Regions from separate parts of the Homo sapiens genome. Here all the other regions are linked to region 1. The links are contacts of gene promoters, found by promoter capture Hi-C in blood cells and fetal thymus (Javierre and others, 2016). All regions are on one chromosome and are shown on one strand. Each heading gives the region's core, a stretch centred on a gene start or on the middle of the fragment in contact. The rest is flanking DNA. Distances are from core to core; before and after follow the strand shown. Region 1 holds the start of CCSER1 (coiled-coil serine rich protein 1). Region 2 overlaps MMRN1 (multimerin 1). Region 3 overlaps CCSER1 (coiled-coil serine rich protein 1). Region 4 overlaps CCSER1 (coiled-coil serine rich protein 1).

Region 1 (2,520 bases), core at 10-2,509:
CACCGTGTGTACGAGTCCCTGGGACACAAGCCAAAAGTCGAAGGGGCCAGGGGGCCACATGCGGTTTCAGCTTACGGCTGACTTTCTGCTCAGGTGAACCAACCCACTGGTTAGTCCAGAGCGCGCGCGCGCGCGCACACACACACACACACACACACGCACACAACCTGGGGCCCTTGACGCTCCACCACAAAGCAAGTGGTTCAATCTAAGTCGCTGCCGTTACTGCTGCCTCTGGGCAGGGTCTTGCTTCCAATCCAGGAAACTGGCGCCAGAGGACAAGCAGGCGGAGGCAAGAGGTGGTCCCGGCCCCGCACTGCGGTTCCTCCGGGAGCCCCTGGCTCCCCGCCCCCTCCTCCCCTTCCCCCTCTTCGCCGCCGTCCCCGCCTCAGCACCCGCAGCCCGGGGCGCCAGCGCTGACCGGTCGCCTCTACCTGCGGGACGCGAGTGGCGAGGAAGGGGAGCGACCCGAAGCCTGCGCCAACTCTCGCCGCCTTGGCCAGCGCTCCGCATCGCCCTGGAGCGGCCGCCGCGGCCGCAGGCAGCAAACCACGCAGCAGCGTGGAGGAAATGGCCACGCGGCGCACTGGGAGTCGCGGGCCGGTGGTGAGCGAGCCCGCCCGCCTCCTTCCCACCCCGCCCGCAAGGCCAGGTCTCTGCGCCGAGCACGCCGGGCCTGGGCGCGCGCTGCTCGCAGGCGGCCCCGACACGGCGCGGTCACCTGCCGAGCGGTCATCCCCGCGTCCGCCTGCGGCCGGCCCCGCAAAGCGGCGACGCGACGCGCGACCCGCTGAGCGCTGAGGCACCAGGGGCGTTACTACCTTGAGGGCTCCGTGCGCTTGTTAAGGCTCCTCCCGGGCACTCAGGGATTTATGTCTTCGGGGCACGGGGGTGTCCTTCCTGGTCCCCCTCCTCTGCCCTCCCTCCCCTTCTCGGCTGTTGGGCTCCTCTCCACTCCCAGTTGCACAGAGTCCAGCTGCGTTATTTAATAATCCTCCTGCTCCTCCTGCCTGCGCCAGCGGAGCTGCTCTGCCCGAGCCACCGCTTCCCAGTCAGTCATGTTGAGACAGAGAGAGAGAGAGAGGAGAGGCGGATTGGCAGTAGGTCGGCGACTATTTGTGGTGAGGGAGAGAAGAGCAGAGCAAGAGGAGGGCAGGGGAGGGACGTGGGGAGGCGCTTCCAAGTGTGTGAGTGCGCGGAGTGTGACTGTGTGGGGAGCGCGAGATCCACCTCCCCGGCAGGCCGCGCTCCGGGGCTGTGAGGAGGGCGGGCCCAAGCGCGGCCTTTATACAAGGAGGAGTGTGGTGGGCTGGGCGGGGCGGCTTGGAGGGCGGTGCCCGGCCCACTGCGTCCGCCGGATTCCACGCACGCATCCTCTGGCATCGACGCGCGCACACCCACTGCTGGCCCGCTGCTGAGTTTTCATTTTAGGGGAAGCAGTATCCCACCGTGCTGACCTGGCCTTTTCCCCCAGTCCATCCTAGTGCTTATGTGGAGTTCAAGTGCATAGGCAGGTCAAGACTAAAGAATAGGGGAAGTCTGAAGAGACGTGAAGTGACTGCGGGGATGCTGGAAATAAATGCACTGTATTTCTCCTCTCCAAGGTTCCGATGTTATCTTTTTTCTCTTCCTCCTGTAAGGGAAGGAATTACCAGATTCTTTCGCCGCTTTTCCTTCTCACCCACACAATTCACATCCTGACAAGTGTCTTCATTCCTCAGTAACAAGAAAAGAAACCTAGCTTCTTTCCTTTAAGCAGGTCACACCTCCCAGGAACCATTTGCAGCAATCAATTCTGTAAGATAATGCAAGCACTGCGACTGTGTCCGAGAGTGGAACTTGTGTTCCTACAAGGAAGGCCCTACACAATACAGGCATTACAAGAGAATCAGCTCAATTTGACATCATTTGACTGATGGTCCCCTGGAGAAAATTTGCCAGTTTAGAAATCGAAAAGACTTTTGATGCATGGTTCTGTTGCCTACATAATTTATTTTCCCCTGATCCTCTCTCCCCTTGCACTGCCTCATTTCCTTTCAGGTTTACACTAAGTACTGAACTCTTTCCCATCCATCCCCTTCTTTATCTCCACTCCAGTATATTTATGCCTTTAGCAGGCAATACAGCAAATGTAGTGCATTTAATTCTGTGTGTGTGTGTGTGTGTGTGTGCGCGCGCGCATCTGTTTTTAACCCATTCTGGTAGAATGTAGGACCATTTCTAGGTAGAAAATGCATCCCCAATATTAAGTTTGTACGCCTAACATCACCTCCCTTACCTTCTGCCCAGATTACAAGATGTTGTGATCAGGTGCACTGAGGTATTGAGAAAAACTTCCAGAAATCAAGTGATCTACAGTTTTTTCAAGGTGTGTTTGTGTGTGCGCGTGCGCGTGCGCACGCTCTGTGTAATCTAACTGGCTATGATCTAACTTCTGAAATGTGGTTATATTGGGAATAAAAGCAAGATGTATTTTTTAAATGAATCTGAGTGGTCAATGTATATTACAGCATGGGGACA
Region 2 (2,520 bases), core at 13-2,512, 180 kb after region 1:
ATAACATTATTTAAATATAAGGTGGCAACATTTAAAAAGATACGTAGAAAATATCCAGTCATGTCAATATAAGGGAAAATGGGCCTTTTCATGCAATGCTGGCTGGAGTGTAAACTGCTATAGCTGTTAATAGGACAATGTGACGATATTTATCAGTATTAAAAAGGTTAATTTACTTTGAGCCAAACATTTCTTCTGGCAGTATATATATACTCCAGACATACTTGTCCATGTGCACAAAGACAATTCTTCAATTCAAAATGATATCACTTGCATTCTTGAAAAATTTAAAGACTCCTAAATGATCACTGATGCAGGACTTGTTAAATAAATTGTAACATATTCCCACTGAGGAATATTAGACAGCAATTAAAGAATGAGGTAGATTCTCCAACAGGTTTGGTTTACTGAAGACAGAAAGTTACAGCTCACACATTACATATAGAATAATTTCATTTGTTGTGAAAGCTTCAAATTATGAATATGGTTATAAACATAATGCATAATTATGTAAATGCAGAAACAAGGTCAGAAGAATTCAGCGCTTATACTACTTGCCACAGTTACTCTGGTGCCACCTTATGGTAATGATGTAGTTTACCATCCACTCATTTCAAACCAGGTGATTGTTGATGATTTTTAATTTGGAAGTTATTTGTTTTGTGTAATATTTTTCTCATGAAGTGAGACCTATAAATTTTTATATACATTTTGTTTCATAGCCATACAATTGAAATTCACATAAAATGTGAACAAACGGCATGCCTGTATTATTAAAATTTTTTGCAAAGCAAATATATTAATATTGTACTTATGTAATGAGAAATTAATCAGAATTATCTTGATATATTCTCTGCAATATTCTATAAACTATTTTCCTTATTAAGAAAAGTATTAAAATATTACATGTGTGTAATACCTTTTAACAAATATTTCGACTGGCTAACATTCCTTTAACCTCACTTTGCTGCATGTGAATAGATTATCAAATCCCTTTTTTGCTGCTCATTAACATTCCAGAACTTTGCCCATTATTTTCCTGCATTAAAAACATCAATGACTTTTCATTACTTATAGTAATGTGAATATTCTGTATCAAAGCATTTGCTTCATTTATTTTTACATTCTCTGAATTTAGCACAGTGATCAACTCACAGGAGAAGTTTCAATTAATGGGTTTCACTAGGAATGTATCAATTGTGCAGTAGAGTTGGGGGGAACACTAACTTATTTATGTAATTTGATCAGCTCTATAATTTTAATTTTCCCAAATATAAAAAATCACAGTCACCTGTAACCTTGGCCCTGTTCATGAATCAGGGATCAAAGCTGTGCTATAAGGAGAACTTAAGAAACTGTGGAAAAAATTAGATTTATCTGCATTGCTGTTGGCTCTACTCTGAATCTTCAGGATCAAGGATTCTGCCTGCTATTTAATGTCCAGGAGCAGCATTCCATTTTTTGCTTCTTTATGTTCCATTACTTTAGGAATTGGGTCTTGCCTTGCTGTAGTTCTTTGAGTCATTTCAGAGGGTGCTATTTTACCCCATTTTCCAATTTCTTTTTAGGGTCATTCATCTGGAGTAGGGCTACACTTAAGTTTAATTGAAGGTCTGCATCTACTACTACTGTTACAGTAGCCCAAACTTCTTGAGACTGCACACAGCTTGCCTTCTAGGACATCTTTCATGGTGCCTACTGATTATCTGCTCAGGATGCCTCAGCCACTTGTCTGTACCTGCTTCGACTGCTTCTGTTTTAAGTTCCTTTCTGTGCCTCTTTTTGCTATTTTAGGTATGTCTGGACTTTCCAAGTCTCTGCCAAAATAATCACATTTTAAAATATAAAATCATGTCCATGGCACCCAGAACTGGACATATTGTACCAGTTGAGCCCAAGCATAGTAGGTTATGGTAGCAATTGCTAGTTACCCCTGCTGAAATGAACTTACACTTCTGTCAAGATAACACAAGCATTAAGTATTCATTGTCTATTTCTGCATCTGTATCACACTGTCTCATAACAGGTCTCCTGTGCTCTGATGTATTGAAGCTTTCTAAAATCTCATGTCTATTTAATTCATTTAAACATGAATTTACAATTATTATTGATAATAAAATTTATCTTATTAGACATGAGTTACCATCTCTGTCCATAGAAAGCATTCAGTTTTATTCTGTATAGATGTTTCAGCCACCCTCCCCTATCTTTGTTATCATTTCCAAATTTATGTCTCATGCGTTCCTCCAAGTTATCGATAAAAATACGTACTAGAAAAAAAATACCTGATGGATTAGTGACAAGTACAGAGCCTTATAACAGACAACTAAAGATTGAATGGCACTGATTTTCCAACTGAAGCTATTTGTACTTTGTTATACAATGAGTTAGAAATCAACTTTTGGCTGGGTACGGTGGCTCACGCCTGTAATCCTAGCACTTTGGGAGGCTGAGGCGGGCAGATCACCTGAGGTCGGGAGTTTGAGATCAGCCTGGCTAACATGGTGAAACCCCATCTCT
Region 3 (2,520 bases), core at 12-2,511, 180 kb before region 1:
GTTATAAACAAGTTAAACTTATGAGAGAACCACAGGTATCAGTTGAAGAAAATACTTGAGTAAAAACTAAGACAGTTGGTAACCTTGAGAGAAGTGACAATACATACTGAGAGAATCAGAAGCATAGAACATTTATGAACCATATTAATGTCAGTATATTCAGGGTATCAATGGAGAAGATAAAGGAGGAGGAGGACACGAGTGAGGAGATGTGGCAGCTACAACTCATCAACTGCTACGTACCAGGTACTTTCCCACAGATTATCTCTTTCACACCTTATATTTCTAGAAATAAGTAATAAGACTATGAACATTTTACAACAGAAAAGCAACTTGCATAATGTCATTCAGCCAACACCTGGTAAAGCAGGAATAAAAAACCCTACAGGGTCAGCTCATAATCAGCATGATACATACTGCATTCACTAAAGTAATTAGTCATGAACTCCTACTGCTGAATGAAGGCCCAGCTATGTTTCTACATCAAGGATTCAAACTTGTACAGCAAATATTGCTATTCTAGTGACTGCCATTTTTCACTGATTTTTAAACTGTACCTGATTTGGTTGCTGTTTTGTTTATGAGTTTTGCTTAATCCTTCAACTGTAATACGATCTCTCCCTTTGTAAATTGAATCAGACTCTGTTTCATTTCTTAGTCTTTACAACCAAAACTACGTGACTAAAAATTAACAAATACTATACAAAATTTAAAATCCTCTATTTTATCATCCTGATAAATATGAGAACTGATCAAGTAAAATACTTTCATTTCCTTGAACAAGTATGTGACAAAAATGACAAATATTTGCTTTCAGATATGCATTCATAAGTATTTAATATTTTTCTCCAAACAACATAAAATCTAACATATTTGTATTATAAGATTTTTGATGGATGATTTTTCACTACAGTCAATGAATTTAATTTTAAAAATTGATTTTATTTTTAATTGACAGATGACAATTGTATATACTTATGAGGTATAACGTGATGTTTTGATATTTTTATATTATGAAATAAGCAAATTAACATACTTATCACCTCATATACATATCATTTTTTGTAGTGACAGCACTTAAAATCTACTCTTTTAGCCATTTTGAAATATGCAGTACATTATTATTAACTATAGTCACCATGCTGTCGAATCAACCTCTAAAACTTATTTCTCCTGTCTAACTGAAACTCTGTACCCTCTGAACATTATTTCCCCATTCCCCTGGCCCCGACACCCCAGCCCCCGGTCCTTCCATCCTGGGGCCTGGTAGCCATTCTACTTTCTACTTCTATGAGTTTAATTATTTAGATTCCATATATAACTGAGATCATGCAATATTTGTCTTTCTGTGTCTAGGTTATTTCATTGAGCATAATGTCCTCCAGGTTCATCCATGTTGTGACATGTGACAGAATTTCTTTTTTAGGCTGAATAGCATTTCATTATATAAATAAACCACATTTTCTTAATCCATTCATCCACAGATGTACACTTAGGTTTGTTACATATCTTGGCTATCATGAATAATGATGCAATAAGCATAGGAGTACAGATATCTCTTTGACATACTGATTTCAATTGTTTGGCTATATACCCAGAAGTAGGATTGCTGGATCATATGGTAGTTCTGTCTTTAGTTTTTGAGGAACCTCCATACTGTGTTCCATAGAGGCTGTGCTAATTTACACCCCCACCAACAGTGTGCAAGAGTTCCCTTTTCTCCATATGAATTTGAATTTAAATCAAACTATATGTGAAACACTCCAAAACATTTCAGTATTCTTGTAAGGCTTTGCTTGAAGAAAACCTAAAACATAAACAGACATTTTAGCTCTTACAATTTTTCACAAATAAAAATGTGTGATTTTCCTCACAGCTTAGATTTTCCAAAGTGTATACAATGAATAATACATTTTTTCATGACTATATTCTTTAAAATGGTTTAACTAACATCACTTACAGCCACGATATTTTTCACTTATATACAACATTTATTTCCATTCAATGCCTATTGAAGAATTTTGCTCTAATTAGAATATAATCAACCATAATGATTTGCAGCTGGTTGTGAACCTACAGACTTCAATGCATGAATGTCAAGATGTCAACCATCATTACTGAAATACTCAAATTTATGTATATTAAAATATTTATTGGCCATTTTTAAAGTATTTCCTGCATTTGGATCAGCATTAACAGTAAATGAGGCCGGGCGCGGTGGCTCACGCCTGTAATCCCAGCACTTTGGGAAGCCAAGGCAGGCAGATCACGAGGTCAGGAGATTGAGACCATCCTGGCTAACACGGTGAAACCCCGTCTCTACTAAAAATACAAAAAATTATCCAGGCATGGTGGTGGGCGCCTGTAGTCCCAGCTACTAGGGAGGCTGAGGCGGGAGAATGGCATGAACCCAGGAAGCGGAGGTTGCAGTGAGCCAGATCAGGCCACTGCACTCCAGCCTGGGTGGACAGAGTGACACTCTGTCTCAAAAAAAAAAATAAAAAACACCAACAACAACAG
Region 4 (2,520 bases), core at 11-2,510, 160 kb before region 1:
CAAAAGACTCCCTGAGTAATTTATCCCTTGGTTGATACACTAGAGGTTTTTAGAAACTGAACAATGCATCCTAAACAGATTCACAAGTGAATCTGAATTCATAAATTTGCTTGTTTTTTTGTAAAGTGGGAGATTGTGAAAGAAACATGAGGAAGATGACTGACAAAACTCAGAAGCTTCTCAAACAAGTAATTTGTATGGAAAATCACAAATAAAAATTGAGAATTGAGAAATTAGTTATCTAAAAGGTATCCATGCCTATGTAGGGCAGGGGTGTCCTTTACACCCTGATTATTATACTACAGTCTGAATACCACTCTTCTAGCACAAAATACTAAGTGAATTCTCAAATAATTCAAAAACAGGAAACATATTCTCCTCCAGGCACAGAGGATTCAGAAGGGAATTAGAGGGGCTAGTCCCTTTTCTGGAGGAGTATCTACTCCAATGAGGGAGACAGAATATAAACAAAACAAATAAGCATATTAGATGATCTTTAACAGTGATGTATGTCTTACAAAAATAATTACTGTAATGAGATAAATAATGAAGAAGACAAGTATGGAGGTGGTGATATTTGAGCTGAATGAAGAAGAGTGAGAAGAACACTTCCAGCAGAGGCAGAATCAAGTGCAAACTCCCTGGGGCAGGCCTGATCATTCCAAGTAGCAGTGTGAGTAAAGGGAATAACTATTTGAGATGAAGTGTCAGGAACTTAGAGGTCCAGATCCTTGTAGGGAGCTAAATTAAGAGAGATAGCCTCTTTGTACAGGATTGATTGCCAAAACTAGCCACCCAGTTAGGATTCTATTGCAATAATCCAAAGGAGAGATAACGACATTCTCGCTTAAATAGCATGGTACAGATAAACAAGATAACAAACTTGGTAATCTTGTGGGTAACACTAGTAATAATTGTTTATTGATAGAGGGATGAGAGAAAGAAAAGAATAAAAAAATGCCCAGGGTTTTTTTTGTTGTTGTTCAGTTGGTTTTTGTTTGTTTAAAGTTGTTGGTTTGTTGTTTTGCTATTTGTTTTAACTGGGAGAAGAAATACTACTCAAAATCACAATCACAATGGAAAAGTCAGGATGGAATAGAAAAATGAAACATAAATACATAAAGTTTCAAATTAGATTAAATATTTACTTGTAAGTAATTTCTTTTTCATATTTAAAGCAAAATGTTCCTAAAATAGACTCTTTAAAAATAAATTCATTTCTAATATCAAAGTTGGAAATTTTGGGGGACATGAAGAATATAAAAAATGGAAAACGTCTAATCTCATGAATCTACTATGTTAGTTTATTTTTAAATGCAGGAATCCTTTACATGGCATTATGTTGAATGAAACATGTTCTTATCAGAACTATGTCCTCATCTTGAATGGCTTTGTGAAAACTCTGATGAGACTCATGTAACATGGAAATAATGCAGAACAGTGAGGAGTCACCGAGATAAAGTGCCTATGCAATGTTGTATCCTGCTAAAGAATTTCATACATATTATCAACTCTTCATGAAAGTTTTAACAGATAGGATTTCTTAAAAGGAGTTACCACAAATTACTTAAGGTTTCTCCTATTATAAAACATGTAGGTAGTTTCAATCATTGGCTATTTAAAATAGCAATATTTACTATATCACTATAAAGTAACTTATACATTTTACTTCTAAATAATAATTTTATAGCATTAAATGCTTCTGATTTTGGCTGACCCTATTTTGTAGGGTTTTTTTTTAATTATTAATGTAAGAACCCAAGGTGATGCTTTTTTGAATTTCAGATCAATGATTCTATTGCTTCTTTTAGGAGCAGTAGCAAAGTCCTATGTGTAAATCGCTTCTTGGAAAAAAGTAAAGCAGTCATAAAACCTAAAAACTCATTCATACCACCAGGGTACCATTTAGTAAATTACCACCACAACACACTCTGGCTGCAGCAACCTGAGGCAAATGTGTCTAATCACACTACATTATTTTTCTTCAAAATGTCTCTCTCCATTCTGCAATGATTAATTCACTTGAGGCCATGCAGACAGAGAAAGAACACCTCTTTGTAGCAGTTTAAGAAATCAAGTCATGAAGACAGGCCACAGGGTGAAGTTTCCAAAGAACAGTGATATTTCCAAAGAATGTAAAATCTGTTTATAAGTTAATGACTTAACAAACTTTATTAAAATTCTACTACTACATGGGAGATCTGCATTAGGCATAAAGGAAAATGCAAAATAAATATAGAATGTTAAGTGTATGAATTTTTCTAAGCCAACACTAGCCCTGTCCAAGACTGAGAAAATGTATCTGTTACAAATGTTCAGTAAAATTAAATTATTTAAAGCTTCAAAATTTCACTTTGCATAAGAAATCACATTTTAAGTTGTGAGTCAAGTCATTTTTTTATTTATGTTATATTAACCTTTATGAAAAATAATTTTTATAAAAAAGCATCCCCATCAATAAACTGTGTAAGTGGCACAAACTATCCAAATAATTCTATAAAATTTTTAATGAACTAAACT

Evidence for each region. The method cuts DNA at HindIII sites, captures the fragments that hold promoters and counts their contacts. A CHiCAGO score of 5 or more calls a contact.
Region 2: a contact is called between a fragment that was not itself captured here and the fragment with the promoter of CCSER1 in region 1, in 4 of 17 cell types (megakaryocytes, total B cells, M2 macrophages and 1 more). The highest score is 6.3, in megakaryocytes.
Region 3: a fragment that was not itself captured here is called in contact with the fragment with the promoter of CCSER1 in region 1 in 3 of 17 cell types (M2 macrophages, naive B cells and total B cells); the score reaches 8.1 in M2 macrophages.
Region 4: a contact is called between a fragment that was not itself captured here and the fragment with the promoter of CCSER1 in region 1, in 6 of 17 cell types (M2 macrophages, total B cells, naive B cells and 3 more). The highest score is 15.3, in M2 macrophages.

Annotation. Positions count from the first base shown.
Region 1 is chr4:90,126,133-90,128,652 of GRCh38, reverse strand. CCSER1 (coiled-coil serine rich protein 1) reads right to left here and starts at 1,259. Exons shown (of 11, transcript NM_001145065.2): 1 at 822-1,259. RefSeq lists silencers at 142-391, 502-701. The HindIII fragment of the contact is 6,776 bases long and covers 1-2,520 here.
Region 2 is chr4:89,948,035-89,950,554 of GRCh38, reverse strand. All of the region lies in intron 6 of MMRN1 (multimerin 1), which reads right to left. Among named protein-coding and RNA genes, the nearest start is that of MMRN1, 54 kb to the right of the region's middle. The HindIII fragment of the contact is 1,584 bases long and covers 471-2,054 here.
Region 3 is chr4:90,304,902-90,307,421 of GRCh38, reverse strand. The region is part of intron 1 of CCSER1 (coiled-coil serine rich protein 1); the gene reads right to left. Among named protein-coding and RNA genes, the nearest start is that of CCSER1, 180 kb to the right of the region's middle. The HindIII fragment of the contact is 7,841 bases long and covers 1-2,520 here.
Region 4 is chr4:90,286,423-90,288,942 of GRCh38, reverse strand. All of the region lies in intron 1 of CCSER1 (coiled-coil serine rich protein 1), which reads right to left. Among named protein-coding and RNA genes, the nearest start is that of CCSER1, 160 kb to the right of the region's middle. The HindIII fragment of the contact is 2,163 bases long and covers 179-2,341 here.